Regions from separate parts of the Homo sapiens genome. Here all the other regions are linked to region 2. Evidence: promoter capture Hi-C in human tissues and cell types (Jung and others, 2019). All regions are on one chromosome and are shown on one strand. Each heading gives the region's core, a stretch centred on a gene start or on the middle of the fragment in contact. The rest is flanking DNA. Distances are from core to core; before and after follow the strand shown.

Evidence for each region. The method cuts DNA at HindIII sites, captures the fragments that hold promoters and counts their contacts. A contact is called where the count stands out against the background at its distance.
Region 1: a fragment that was not itself captured here is called in contact with the fragment with the promoter of IL10RB in region 2 in 1 of the 25 tissues and cell types used here (dorsolateral prefrontal cortex).
Region 3: a fragment that was not itself captured here is called in contact with the fragment with the promoter of IL10RB in region 2 in 2 of the 25 tissues and cell types used here (IMR-90 fibroblasts and lymphoblastoid cells).

The regions. Positions count from the first base shown.
Region 1 is chr21:32,774,542-32,778,885 of GRCh38, forward strand. All of the region lies in intron 1 of EPCIP-AS1 (EPCIP antisense RNA 1), which reads left to right. Among named protein-coding and RNA genes, the nearest start is that of EPCIP-AS1, 4.6 kb to the left of the region's middle. The HindIII fragment of the contact is 6,384 bases long and covers 1-4,344 here.
Region 2 is chr21:33,263,284-33,267,859 of GRCh38, forward strand. It overlaps IL10RB (interleukin 10 receptor subunit beta), which reads left to right and starts at 3,084. Exons shown (of 7, transcript NM_000628.5): 1 at 3,084-3,231. The coding sequence starts at 3,183. The region is part of intron 7 of IFNAR2-IL10RB (IFNAR2-IL10RB readthrough); the gene reads left to right. It overlaps IFNAR2 (interferon alpha and beta receptor subunit 2), which reads left to right. Exons shown (of 9, transcript NM_001289125.3): 9 at 1-2,381. The coding sequence ends at 217. IL10RB-DT (IL10RB divergent transcript) reads right to left here and starts at 2,977. Exons shown (of 2, transcript NR_038974.1): 1 at 2,780-2,977; 2 at 2,349-2,619. RefSeq lists enhancers at 2,600-2,659, 2,690-2,759 and a silencer at 2,930-3,339. The HindIII fragment of the contact is 10,877 bases long and covers 1,162-4,576 here.
Region 3 is chr21:32,970,762-32,975,093 of GRCh38, forward strand. No RefSeq gene overlaps it. Among named protein-coding and RNA genes, the nearest start is that of LINC01690, 14 kb to the left of the region's middle. The HindIII fragment of the contact is 4,875 bases long and covers 1-4,181 here.

The sequences.
Region 1 (4,344 bases), core at 459-2,958, 490 kb before region 2:
GTAGAGGTAGCAAAGACAAGGTCCAGAAGCCAAATATGTTATTATGGTGGCCTGAAATTTCAAAAATTTCTCCCAGTGTAAAAGTGGTGATTGGATATGGATAGAGGGAAGAGTACCTCTCATTTTAAAGTAAGCCACAATACAATCACTTGTCACTTGACGGGGATACATTCTGAGAAATATGCCATTAGGCAATTTCATCACATACTTACACAAACCTAGTGGTGTAGCCTACTACATACCTAGGCTGTATGGCATAGCTTATTGCTTCTAGGCTACAAACCTATACGGCATGTTACTGTACTGAATACTGTAGCACTTGTAACACAATGGTATCTGTATCTAAACATAGAAAAGATACAGTAAAAATACAGCATAAAAGCTTTAAAAATGGTGCACCTGTATAGGACACTTACCAGGAATGGAGCTTACAGGACTGGAGGTTGCTCTGGGTGAGTCAGTGAGTGAGTGGTAAGTGAATATGAAGGCCTAGGTTATTACTGTACACTGCTGTAGATTTTATAAACAACTGTACACTTAGGCTACACTAAATGTTTAAACATATTTCTTTCTTCAATAATAAATAGCTTACTATAACTTTTTTACTTTATAAGCTTTCTTATTTTTTAAAACTTTTTTGTTGTTATTGTTTTGTTTTGTTTTTGTTTTTTGAGATGGAGTCTCACTCTGTCACCCAGTCTGGAGTGCAGTGGCGCGATCTCAGCTCACTGCAACCTCCACCTCCCAGGTTCAAGCAATGAGACAGAGTCTCACTCTATCCCCAGGCTGGAGTGCAGTGGCGTGATCTCAGCTCACTGCAACCTCTGCCTCCCAGGTTCAAGCAATCCTCCCACCTCAGCTTCCCAAGTAGCTGGGATTATAAGCGTGCACCACCATGCCCAGTTAATGTTTGTATTTTTAGTAGAGATGATCCGCACACCCCACAAGCTCCTGTGTTGGCCAGGCTGGTCTTGAACTCCTGACCTCAAGTAATCTGCCCACCTCGGCCTCCCAAAGTTCTGGGATTGCAGGCATGAGCCAACGTGCCCAGACATTTTTTAAAACTTCTTGACTTTTTTTTTTTTTTTTTTGAGACAGAGTTTTGCTCTTGTTGCCCAGGCTGGAGTGCAGTAGTGCAACCTCAGCTCACCGCAACCTCTGCATCCAGGGTTCAAGAAGTTCTCCTGCCTCAGCCTCCTGAGTAGCCGGGATTACAGGCATGCACCACCACGCCCAACTAATTTTGTATTTTTAGTAAAGACAAGGTTTCTCCATGTTGGTCAAGGCAGTCGCAAACTCCCGACCTCAGGTCGTCCACCTGCCTCAGCCTCCCAAAGTATTGGGATTACAGGCGTGAGCCATCGTGCCCGGCATAACACTTTGCTTAAAAAAATACACATTTACAGCTGCACAAAAATATCTTCTATTTTTACCATTTTAATTATTTTGTTTTACTTTTTAAACTTTAAAGCTAAGACACAAACACACACATCAGCCTAGGCCTACGCAAGGTCAGGATTATCAGTGTCACTGTCTTCCACTTCCACATCTTGTCCCACTGGAAGGTCTTCAGGAAAAATAACAAACATGGAGCTATCATGTCCTATAAAAACAATATCTTTTTCTGGAATACCTCCTGAAGGACCTGCCTGAGGCTCTTATATACTTAACTTTTTTTTTTGTAAGTAAAAAGAGTGCGCTCTAAAATAACAGTAAAAAGTATAGTATAGGCGTCCCCAACCACCTCCCACCCCTGCAGGAGGCAAGTGGCCAAAGGTAGACATTGTTCTCTCTCTTTTTTTAAGTTTATTTTTAAAATGTTAGAAGCCACAAAGCCAATAAATATGTAAAAAATATTCTATATACATTAGCTGATGTCTTAGTCCATTTGGGCTGCTACAACAAAATACCATTAATTGGGTGACTTATAAACAACAAATTTATTTCTCACAGCTCTGGATGCTGGGAAATCCAAGGTTAAGGCACTGGCAGATTTGTGTTCCGGTGAGGGTCTGCTTCCTGGTTCATAGATGGTACCTTCTAGCTGAGTCCTCACATGGTGGAAGGGAGACAACTGTGGTTTCTTCAGCTTCTTACCAGGGCACTAATCCCATTCATAAGGGCTCCACCTTTGTGACCTAGTCACATTCCAGCATCTCTACCTCCTCTGCTATCACACTGGGGATTAGTGTTTCAATATATACATTTGGGGGGAAGATAAATAGCTGGGCCTTAACAACTGATGAGGCCTCACTAAATATGCGAGAAATAAGATAAAGCAGGGGTCCCCAACCTCCAGGCCACAGACTGGTACCAGTCAGTGGCCTGTTAGGAACCGAGCTGCACAAGAGGAGGTGAGCGGCGGGTGAGCAAACAAAGCTTCATCTGTATTTGCAGCCACTCTGCATCACTCGCATTACCACCTGAGCTCTGTCTCCTGTCAGATCTGCAGCAGCATTGGATTCTTACAGGAACACGAACCCTATTGTGAACTCTGCACATGAGGGATCTAGCTTGTGCACTCCTTATGAGAATCTAATGCCTGATGACCTGTCACTGTCTCCCATCACCCCCAGATGGGACCATCTGGTTGCAGGAAAACAAGCTGAGGGCTCCAACTGATTCTACATTATGGTGAATTGTATAATTATTTCATTATATATTACAATGTAATTGTAATAGAAATAAAGTACACAGTAAATGTAATGCATTTGAATCATCCTCAAACCATCCTCCACCCCCTAGTTCATGGAAAAATTGTCTTCTATGAAACCAGTCCCTGGTGTCAAAAAGGTTGGGGACTACTGGTATAGCAAATACATAAACCAGTAACATAGTCATTTATTATCATTATGGAGTTTTATGTGGTATATGTAATTGTATGTGCTATACTTTTATACCACTGAAACAGAGGTTTCTTAATACCAGCATCACCACACACATGAGTAATGTATTGTGCTACAGTATTATGATTGCTATGATGTCACTAGATGATAGGAATTTTTCAGCTCCATTGCAATCTTTTTTTTTTTTTTTTTTTGAAACAGAGTGTAGCTCTGTTGCCCAGGCTAGAGTGCAGTGGTGCAATCTCTGCCTCCAAGTTCAAGCGATTCTTGTGCCTCAGCCTCCTGAGGAGCTGGGATTACAGGCACGTGCCACCACACATGACTATTTTTGGAATTTTTAGTAGAGACGAGCTTTCACCATTTGGCCAAGCTGGTCTCGAACTCCTGACCTCAGGTCATCCGCCTGCCTCACCCTCCCAAAGTGCTGAGATTACTGGCATGAGCCACGGCGCCTGGCCGCATTGCAATCTTATGGGACCACCACCATATATGCAGTCCATCATTGATCAAAACATCATTATGCAGTGCATGGTTGTATTCAGATACAACAGATTTATTTATAACTTTGCCAGTCTACCTATTTATATAGTTAAAGAGCAAAGTTAAACATTTAAAAGTTATCTTACTGCCCAAGCAAGCCAAAGGTTCTTCTATCAGAAGTTATAGAGATTGTGGAAATTAAATTCCTGAAATTGAATAGCTACCTTAACTGCCTGTCAGCTGGTATATTATCAGAAACTAATTACTTGATAAAGTACTTCTGTACTTTGAGTATCAAATATACTAATTTGTTTGTTGATATAGTATGTCATCACCATTTAATATTGCAATGCTTTTAGTATCCTGGGAAGACAAAGAACTAATACATCAACCATTTTGTTTCAATCAATAAATTGTTCCTTTAAAAAAAGTCATCTTTCCAAGCAATAATTCTGGTTAGTATTTTTCCCATGAAATTGTGACTTTACATGGATTAATTGACACACAGATTCAGACAAAATAGGCAATAAGCAGTTTGGTTTGCCAACTCAGTCCTAAACCATGCAGTCTGGAACAATGACTACCAAATTCAGGTCTGTGAACTTGTGAAAAGTTTTCCCTACTCAGCTGCCAAAATAAAAGAGGAAGGACAGTCTGTGTGTATAGAGTAACCAGATGTCCTTTCTTGGAAGAAATAGTCCTTTATTCTGAAATTATGTGCCTTTTTTTCTCTTTCATGTTAAGATGAGAAAATTTCTTTATTTCTATAAACAATGATGCTAATATATGGTAGTCTGTGAGTTTATCTTCATACCCTTACTTGGAAAACTGAAATGTAGTAAAAGCTATAGGCCCTCCTCAATTTTTTATTTTATCTTTAAAAAATTTTATCTGGTAGGTGAAATATAACAGCCTAGGAGTCCCTGATCTAGGATTTTCCTTTTTTTAAAAAAACTATAACTCTGGACATCTCAATAATTCTATTCTGGAAAAAGGCTGAAGAAATAATGTAATAATT
Region 2 (4,576 bases), core at 1,834-4,333:
AGCCCCTCTGATGCTATCGTCTCATCTGGAAGAGATGGTTGACCCAGAGGATCCTGATAATGTGCAATCAAACCATTTGCTGGCCAGCGGGGAAGGGACACAGCCAACCTTTCCCAGCCCCTCTTCAGAGGGCCTGTGGTCCGAAGATGCTCCATCTGATCAAAGTGACACTTCTGAGTCAGATGTTGACCTTGGGGATGGTTATATAATGAGATGACTCCAAAACTATTGAATGAACTTGGACAGACAAGCACCTACAGGGTTCTTTGTCTCTGCATCCTAACTTGCTGCCTTATCGTCTGCAAGTGTTCTCCAAGGGAAGGAGGAGGAAACTGTGGTGTTCCTTTCTTCCAGGTGACATCACCTATGCACATTCCCAGTATGGGGACCATAGTATCATTCAGTGCATTGTTTACATATTCAAAGTGGTGCACTTTGAAGGAAGCACATGTGCACCTTTCCTTTACACTAATGCACTTAGGATGTTTCTGCATCATGTCTACCAGGGAGCAGGGTTCCCCACAGTTTCAGAGGTGGTCCAGGACCCTATGATATTTCTCTTCTTTCGTTCTTTTTTTTTTTTTTTTTTGAGACAGAGTCTCGTTCTGTCGCCCAAGCTGGAGCGCAATGGTGTGATCTTGGCTCACTGCAACATCCGCCTCCCAGGTTCAAGTGATTCTCCTGCCTCAGCCTCCCTCGCAAGTAGCTGGGATTACAGGCGCCTGCCACCATGCCTAGCAAATTTTTGTATTTTTAGTAGAGACAGGATTTTACCATGTTGGCCAGGCTGGTCTCAAACTCCTGACCTCAAGTGATCTGCCCTCCTCAGCCTCGTAAAGTGCTGGGATTACAGGGGTGAGCCGCTGTGCCTGGCTGGCCCTGTGATATTTCTGTGAAATAAATTGGGCCAGGGTGGGAGCAGGGAAAGAAAAGGAAAATAGTAGCAAGAGCTGCAAAGCAGGCAGGAAGGGAGGAGGAGAGCCAGGTGAGCAGTGGAGAGAAGGGGGGCCCTGCACAAGGAAACAGGGAAGAGCCATCGAAGTTTCAGTCGGTGAGCCTTGGGCACCTCACCCATGTCACATCCTGTCTCCTGCAATTGGAATTCCACCTTGTCCAGCCCTCCCCAGTTAAAGTGGGGAAGACAGACTTTAGGATCACGTGTGTGACTAATACAGAAAGGAAACATGGCGTCGGGGAGAGGGATAAAACCTGAATGCCATATTTTAAGTTAAAAAAAAAAAAAGCAAACACAAAGATGCTTCAAGATCTTCAGGAGAAGTATGGTATACAAGTTTCAGGGACCCTATTTGACAATTTTCAGAGTGCTCTCTATGCTGATTCCGAGTCGAGTGTGTCAGCTGTGATTACAGTGCCTGTGGATCTAGGCCGGGTTGGGGGGGTGTGGGCGGGGGAAGGGAAGTCTGGCCCGGAGCAATTGCTCCTGCCGGTAACCCCAGCACTTTGGGATGCCTAAACAGGCGTATCGCTTGAGGCCAGTAATTCGAGACCAGCCTGGGCAACATGGCAAATCTGTCTCTACAAAACAAAATTAGAAAAATTAACTGGGCGTAGTGGCATGTGCCTGTTGTCCCAGCTACTTGGGAGGCTGAGGTGGGAGAATGGCTTGAGCCCAGGAAGCGGAGGTTGCAGTGAGCCAAGATCATGTCACTGCACTTCAGCCTGGGTGACAGAACCAGACCCTGTCTTTAAAAAGGGAGTTGGTGGGGAGAGGTTCTAGAATGTCATGTAGCAACCAGTTTAAGGACTGGGACTCAGGGATCCAACTCCCACAGTTTCCCTGTGTGACCCTAGGCATTTGACTTAGCCTTTCTGAGCCTCAGGTTTTTTGTTTCTGAAGTAAAAGGATTGGACTAGGTAATCTCCAAGATCCTAGGAACCCAGGAGAAAGATGAGAAAATGTACAAGAATGAACACTCAGGTGGAAATGCTGCAATCCTGAGAAGCTCCCAGGATGAATGAAAGGCACAGGACCTCTTACCCCTCACCCCTGCCCCCCTCAAGAGCTGGTTTCTCAAACCTTTCTCTTAGGCCCCTTCAAAGGGGGAAAACTAAAAATTATACAAGTTATAGTTCAAGGACTTTAAATAGATTATTTATATGATTGCTCATAAGGATGAGGCTGTGAGGAGGGAACACCTTATTTAATCTAATGAAATTCCATAGGAAAGAGGCCTTTTGTATATTGAATCAATTTATCTGCCTTCTCAGTGCATCTGTCATATTCTGAAAGATTCTGGGTTGATCTTTTGCGATAACCTCTATGGCTGTGAGTGTGTGTGTGTGTTTGTGTATTTTTTAACATTTTGTATAATGATTGGAGGTTGGTAAAAAGTAACACAACAGTACTTTTTTAATACAAACTTGGTGTGGTCTTGAGTTGTCTTCCATTGGAGAGCGTACGTGTGCCACAGATTGGTGCACCTGCCGGCATCTCTAGGATTGCACCAACTCCCTCTAGCTCTTCTTGGTGGCCTGCAGGGGCCTAGGGCGCATTCACTTCCCTCTGCTTGACTTTACGTGGTGTTCTAGCGTCAGACATCAGGCGATGCCGTGCATTACCCAAGACACTGGACAGCTCCGGATCTTCCCGTCTAACCACTAATCAAGTTAAAAAGAGGAAATTAACGCTTTCTTAGTAGTCTCTGAAAGAAACTAGTTATTTGCGTAAAGATGACTTGGTTTTGTGTTGTTTATCCCTGGGGAGAAGGGTAAAGAAGACCCTCAAACTGGATTTGCTGCTGAAGTGCTTTTAACTCACCTGTGCGGAGAGCGGACTTCAAGAGAGGGCGTGCCGGTGCTCCGGACAAAACCTGGGGAATACTGAAAGCCACCACCACCACCGTCATTCCAGCATGCAGATCTCAGTCCTGGGTTGGTGTTGTAGGGCATTTATTTATTTGACTTGACGGCGCCTTTCAAAGCTTGCGAGGATCCCTTCCTCTTCCTCGTGTGCATCTGCCAAGCCTGTGCCCCGCGCCTCGCGGGTGGACCCGGGCTGGTGGGCGGGGCCTGCAGCGGGGTGGGAGCCCGGTCGCCCGGCCCCTCCCCACCCCGCCCCGCCCATCTCCGCTGGTTCCCGGAAGCCGCCGCGGACAAGCTCTCCCGGGCGCGGGCGGGGGTCGTGTGCTTGGAGGAAGCCGCGGAACCCCCAGCGTCCGTCCATGGCGTGGAGCCTTGGGAGCTGGCTGGGTGGCTGCCTGCTGGTGTCAGGTGAGGGGTCCGCGGGGAGGGGGCGCGCTTGGGAACCGGGAGGCCCCGCGAGATGCCGCCCCTGATCCCATCCCTGGGCGCCCTGCAAGTGACTTAAGAGCCTTCGGGGCCTCGGGAGAGAAGATGCAAACGCCACGGCCGGCTGCTGAGACGCAACTAGGCTGCTGCTGCCGTCGATTCTGTAACAGGAGAAAGCCCCATCCGCGCCCGGATTACAGACCGTCTGGGCCCTAAACTCAGGGGGAGACTCCCGGCGTCTTTTGATTCCCTGTCCTCCTGCAGCTCTCTGCTGGCGGGCGTCTAAATAAAGTAGCTTCCCCAAAAGACCCAAGATCCCACCGTGGCTGTCATCTGACCCTTCTGGAGACTATCAGTTCAAGTGGAGGCCCCCACCAGTCCCCGAGTGCCCTGACAGCCCTCCCTGACCCCAAGTCTGCCCCCTCAGTGCCAGCCCTCCCTACAGATGTGCCTCCCATCACCCGCTGCACCTCCCCTCCTTCCGGTTCAGGCCCGAGCACCCTGAAATCTGGATTCTGTCCCCCAGCGCCCCAGCTCCATGGCTTCTAAACCTAAATCCATTGAAACCTTTTCTGTCCTCTAAATTGACTGCCTAGGTTCCAATAACACCATGGTCACCTCCTTCCTTTCTCATGAACTCTTCCCTGGCCTTCCGGGATACCCCTCCGGTTTCCCGCCCTGTCAGGCTGTCTCTGCTTGGGACCCTCCTGCTCTGTCAGGTTTCTATGTAGCTAATTGTGATGCCCAAGGCCTTTTCTCTCCTTCCCTGGCACTGTTCCTTTGGGGGATTTCAGCCAAACCCTGGCATTAAACACGGGCTATAGGCCCATGACTCGCACATTTATATCTCTCTTGGTACCAGTTGGGTGATGGGTGGTGGTTTATTATAGTCTTCTACTTTTCTACTTGCATGTAGGTTTCAAATTTTCTTTTCTTTCTTTCTTCTTCCGTTTTTTTTTTTGTTTGTTTGTTTTTTTGTTTTTTTGTTTTTTTTTGAGACAGGGTTTTGCTCTGTTGCTGTGGCCCAGGCTGGAGTGCAGTGGCTTGATCTTGCCTCACTGCCACCTCCGCCTCCCGGGTTCAAGCGATTTTCCTCCCTCAGCCTCCCGAGTAGCTGGAATTACAGGTGTGTGCCACTACGCCTGGCTAATTTTTGTATTTTTATTGGAGATGGGGTTTCGCCATGTTGGCCAGGCTGGTCTCGAACTCCTGACCTCAGGTGATTCACCTTCCTCAGCCTCCCAAAGAGCTGGGATTACAGGCGCGAGCCACCATGCCTGGCCAGGTTTCGAATTTTCTATTAAAAGGTTTGAAAATAATTTCTGTC
Region 3 (4,332 bases), core at 494-2,993, 290 kb before region 2:
TTTTGTAAGTTTTCTTCTGTAGATAGGCTAGTTGGGAGTGCACTGTTAGAAGCTCCCAGGCTGGGCGAGGTGGCTCACGCCTGTAATCCCAGCACTTTGCGAAGCTGAGGTGGGTGGATCACCAGGAGTTTGAGACCAGCCTGACCAACATGGTGAAACTCCGTCTCTACTCCAAATACAAAAATTAGCTGGGGGTGGTGGCAGTTGCCTGTAATCCCAGCTACTCAGGGAGCTGAGGCAGGAGAATTGCTTGAACCTGGGAGGCAGAGGTTGCAGTGAGCTGAGATCGCGCCATTGCACTCCAGTCTGGGCAACAAGAGCGAAACCCCGTCTCAAAAAAAAAAAAAAAAAAAAAAAGAAATAGCTCCCAGTAGCATCTTCCCGCCTCCCCCTCTCCCCCCCGCCCCCCACCCCCACCCCCGCATATATCTGGGCCCCGACTTTGAGGGCATTCACACAAACAGCTCCATAGCAGCTGGTGGGCTGGGCCCAATTAGCCAGTGTGGGGCAAACGGAATGCACGATTGATGCAGAACCCTTGGAGAACGGGCCCTGAATCCAGGAGCCAAATGGTTCCTTGCACAGAGCGGAAAGGATTAGGGTGGGCGACCAGTTTGGGAGCAAGAAGCAGTATCCCACCAACATGCAAAGCCTTTTCTTTCTCTACACAACCCCACCATTGTCTATGACATAATGCTGTTCAGTGGCCTCCACTGCAACATTCAAGGCCCAGTCCTGTCTTCTGGGAACAACTCAGATATTAATTTTGAAAGCAGTGGGTGTCCTTCACACGCAGACTCTAAACAGATTCTCCATTCTACATGTAGAGGAAGAAATCGAGAATAATATTTTGCTTTTAAAAAAAAAATTTGGTGGCTGGTTCTTCTTGCTCTCCAAGAAAGCTTGTTTGGGAATATTAAAAAAACGAAGATGTACAGCTCCTCTCCTGGGTGAAAAGCACACAGTCCAAAGAGTCGTATTTGTCAGGCTCACAGGATGGGCGGGAGAGGAGGTGGGACTGGTGGGCGGTGGCTTTTCACCCTCTGTACCTAGGTTTATGGCCTTTCAGTATTTAGGGGAGCTATTTTTACATGTAGCTTGCTCCTATTTTTTTCTGATTGGAGTCTCTTTATTAAAAGAATTGTTTAATTTGAAATGAGTAACCCAAGTTACTCGGCAAGATATAAAGATTAAGAAAAGATAACAAGAGATGAATAAATGAGGTAGTGGAATTGCTTGATAACTGGAGTAGTGCCTTAGAAGCTCTCTCCCAAGTTAGAACTATTCTTTGTTGTTAAATGAAAGTTAAAATATGCCATTTTCAATGTAAATACATTTTTTCCCAGATTCATACTATCCTATATTACAATTGTTTTCATTTCTTCATCATAAGAAATCATCACTTTGGAGTTTTATTTATGTATGTCCTGTTTTCACATCATTTTGACAGTCCTGTAGATATGCTATGTTTTTCCTCACAGCCCTAATTATATATCATCTTTATCATTTTTAGTAAATAGATAATATCCCATTACACCAATGTTCCATAATTTGTTATCTGTTGCCCTTTGCTAAGACTTTGGTTATTTTCAGCTTTTCACTCCCACAAATAACACTGCTATAAATATATCAATGCATACACCATTTCTCCTTTTAAATTGCTTTCTTGAAATAAATTCCAAAGAATGAGATTACAGGGTCAAAGAGTACTAACATTTTTATGACCTTTGACCCGCATTGATTGCCAAATGCCCTCAAAAGGCATTGTACCAGTTTTCAAAGAATGATATATCTGCTTTCCCCACAGGCTCATCAGGCATTGAGTTATAGGGTTTTCCTGTATTTTTATTTCTTCAGTCTCAATGGGTTGAGATTAAACTATATGCCCATTGGAGAATTATTATAAGTAGCTATACAATTCATTGATTACTTAATAATGCTTAGGATACAACAGAAAGGAAAATAAAGCAGAAAAAAAACAAGCCAAATTAAATTCTTTCTCAGTTGTGTTAAATGCCTTTGTATATTGAATATCTGTGAGCATGCTAAGCTTCAACACTGAGAACAAAGAAATCAGTTCTGAAACAACTAGAATAACATCAGCACACCAGAGTCAGATAACTTAGTTTTCATTTCATAAATACATTCACACACTCACAAAGCTCTAAACTTTGTTAGAAGAGTGAGCCTAAGAGAAACAAATGCTTACTTGTGTTATCAATGCCTAAAGCACTGATTTTGAGCAGCAAAGATTTGACTCTCTCTGACCTCTTGCAAAGATGTCCAATTATTTCACAGTTGTTCTTCTGCTTTTCCTCTCTGTCTCAAGCTATCTTGAATAGGGAAAGAGTGAAAAAAGGAGTAAAAGTAAAATAACAGGGGCAAGAGTCTCTCGTTCCTTTTGTGAATTTTGCCTTCGGCTTGGTTCTGTTTTCTGGAAAATACTATGCAAACATGGAAATGGGTAAGTTGTCTGTCAATGCACTTTGCAGATGGCATGGATAAATGAAGAAAGCCCTGAATATCTAATTCTTTGTGACCAGCTCTGTTCAAATACAGTTCCTTCAACATTTCATATAAGTGATGCCTTAGGATTTCTGTAACACACGGTTTGCACAGCGTAGACATACTATGAGAGTCTATGGGATGGATGTTTGAGTCAAATGTGGCACGTTCATAGACCACTTGGAGTATACAATCAAAGATCCAAAGAAAACTATTGGTGTCATGGAAACCTTGCTCTTTGGGAAGTAAATCCACTCCAACTGAATGGGCATCCCTTCCTTTCTCAGCCCCACCATATCAGGAAGAGTGTACTTGGTGTTTATAGCTATGAGTGCCTGAAAAACAAGAACAGGTAGATTTGTATGTTAAGGCCCCATATTGATATTGGAAAAATACAAACCAGGAAGTGCAAATGTTAGCTTGGATCTGCTCTTACCTCCCATCACCACCACCCACAAAGAAGAGAAGAAAAAGAGCCAGAAAATGCACCCAGAGCCATCAGAAAAGTAAGGGAGGGATATTTTTATTTAGTACCAAACCCGAAGAGAGGGCAGCAGGTGCGGTGGCTCATACCTGTAATCTCAGCACTTTGAGAGGCTGAAGAGGGTGGATTGCTTGAGCCCATGGGGTTCAAGATGAGCCTGGGCAACAAAGTGAGACTCTGTTTCTCTAAAAAATAAAAATAAAAAATTAGCCAGGCATGCTGGTGTATGCCTGTAGTCCCAGCTCCTCAGGAGGCTGGGAGGTGGGAGAATCACTTGAGCCCGGGAAGTCAAGGCTGCAGTAAGCCATAGTCTCGCCACTGCACTCCCACCTGGGTAACAGAGTGAGACTCTGTCTCAAAAAACAAAGCAAAACAAAAACCACCCGGAAGCAGGTATCCTTTGAGTTCCTGTGACTGAACCAGTTCATTGCTGACTTGTTTGTGGCTGTGAGTCGCCTCAGTCTTGCTTGCTGCTGGACTGTGCCATTGATGGTGACCCCCATGGGGGCAGGCTGGGGTCAGGCTGGAGTCCTTCAGCCCTTCTGGGGAGCTGCTGCTTTCTAGCCAAACCAGGGGGTTAGTGGAAGGGTGGAAAGGTCAAGTAACTAAGAAGGGTGAACTAGAGAAAGACGTGGCAATTTGCCAGAGTGGTCCCTTCATTTAGAGTAAGGAATTGTGTGAGTGAGGGGCCTGCAGGCTGGTAAACAGCTTGTCCATCTCCAGAGAGGACCCACCAGTGTCAATGGCCGATTGAGAACAGGGCACCTCGCTGATAGTCACAGAGACGACCAAGACTGGAATTTCAAGTGGAATTTCTCCAAACCATGTTGGAACACTCATGAATCTGACTTGCACATCAGGCTGGGAAGTCATCTAGCCCCAAAGCTATGTCCTTGGGGAAGGGGAAGGCTGAAGGCTGAAAGAGAGAAACTTCCCACTCATCACCATATCCCCAATATCCAGTCTCTTCCTATCTCCCTCTCCAGCAAAATCAGCTGCTCCTTCCCCTAGCCTTGAAGAGCACCCTGTACATACTTCTCTGGCGCACTCAGCCCATTGTATACTAACGTGTTTCCATGCTATCTTCCCAGCTGGGGCATGAGTTCATCAGTGTATTCCAGCACATCTGGGTTCACATTCCAACTCCTGTCTCCTAATAGCTATGTGACTTGAACAAGCCACTTCTCTGAGACCTTTGTTTCCTTGTCCATCATGTGCTAATAAAAGAGTCTACCTGATTGGATAGCTGGGTGGATCATATGAGCTTCTACAAAATGCTCAGGTTTATCCTCATCATCCACTGGGCAATTTCTAGCCCAGAGCACAGCACCCTAATAGATATG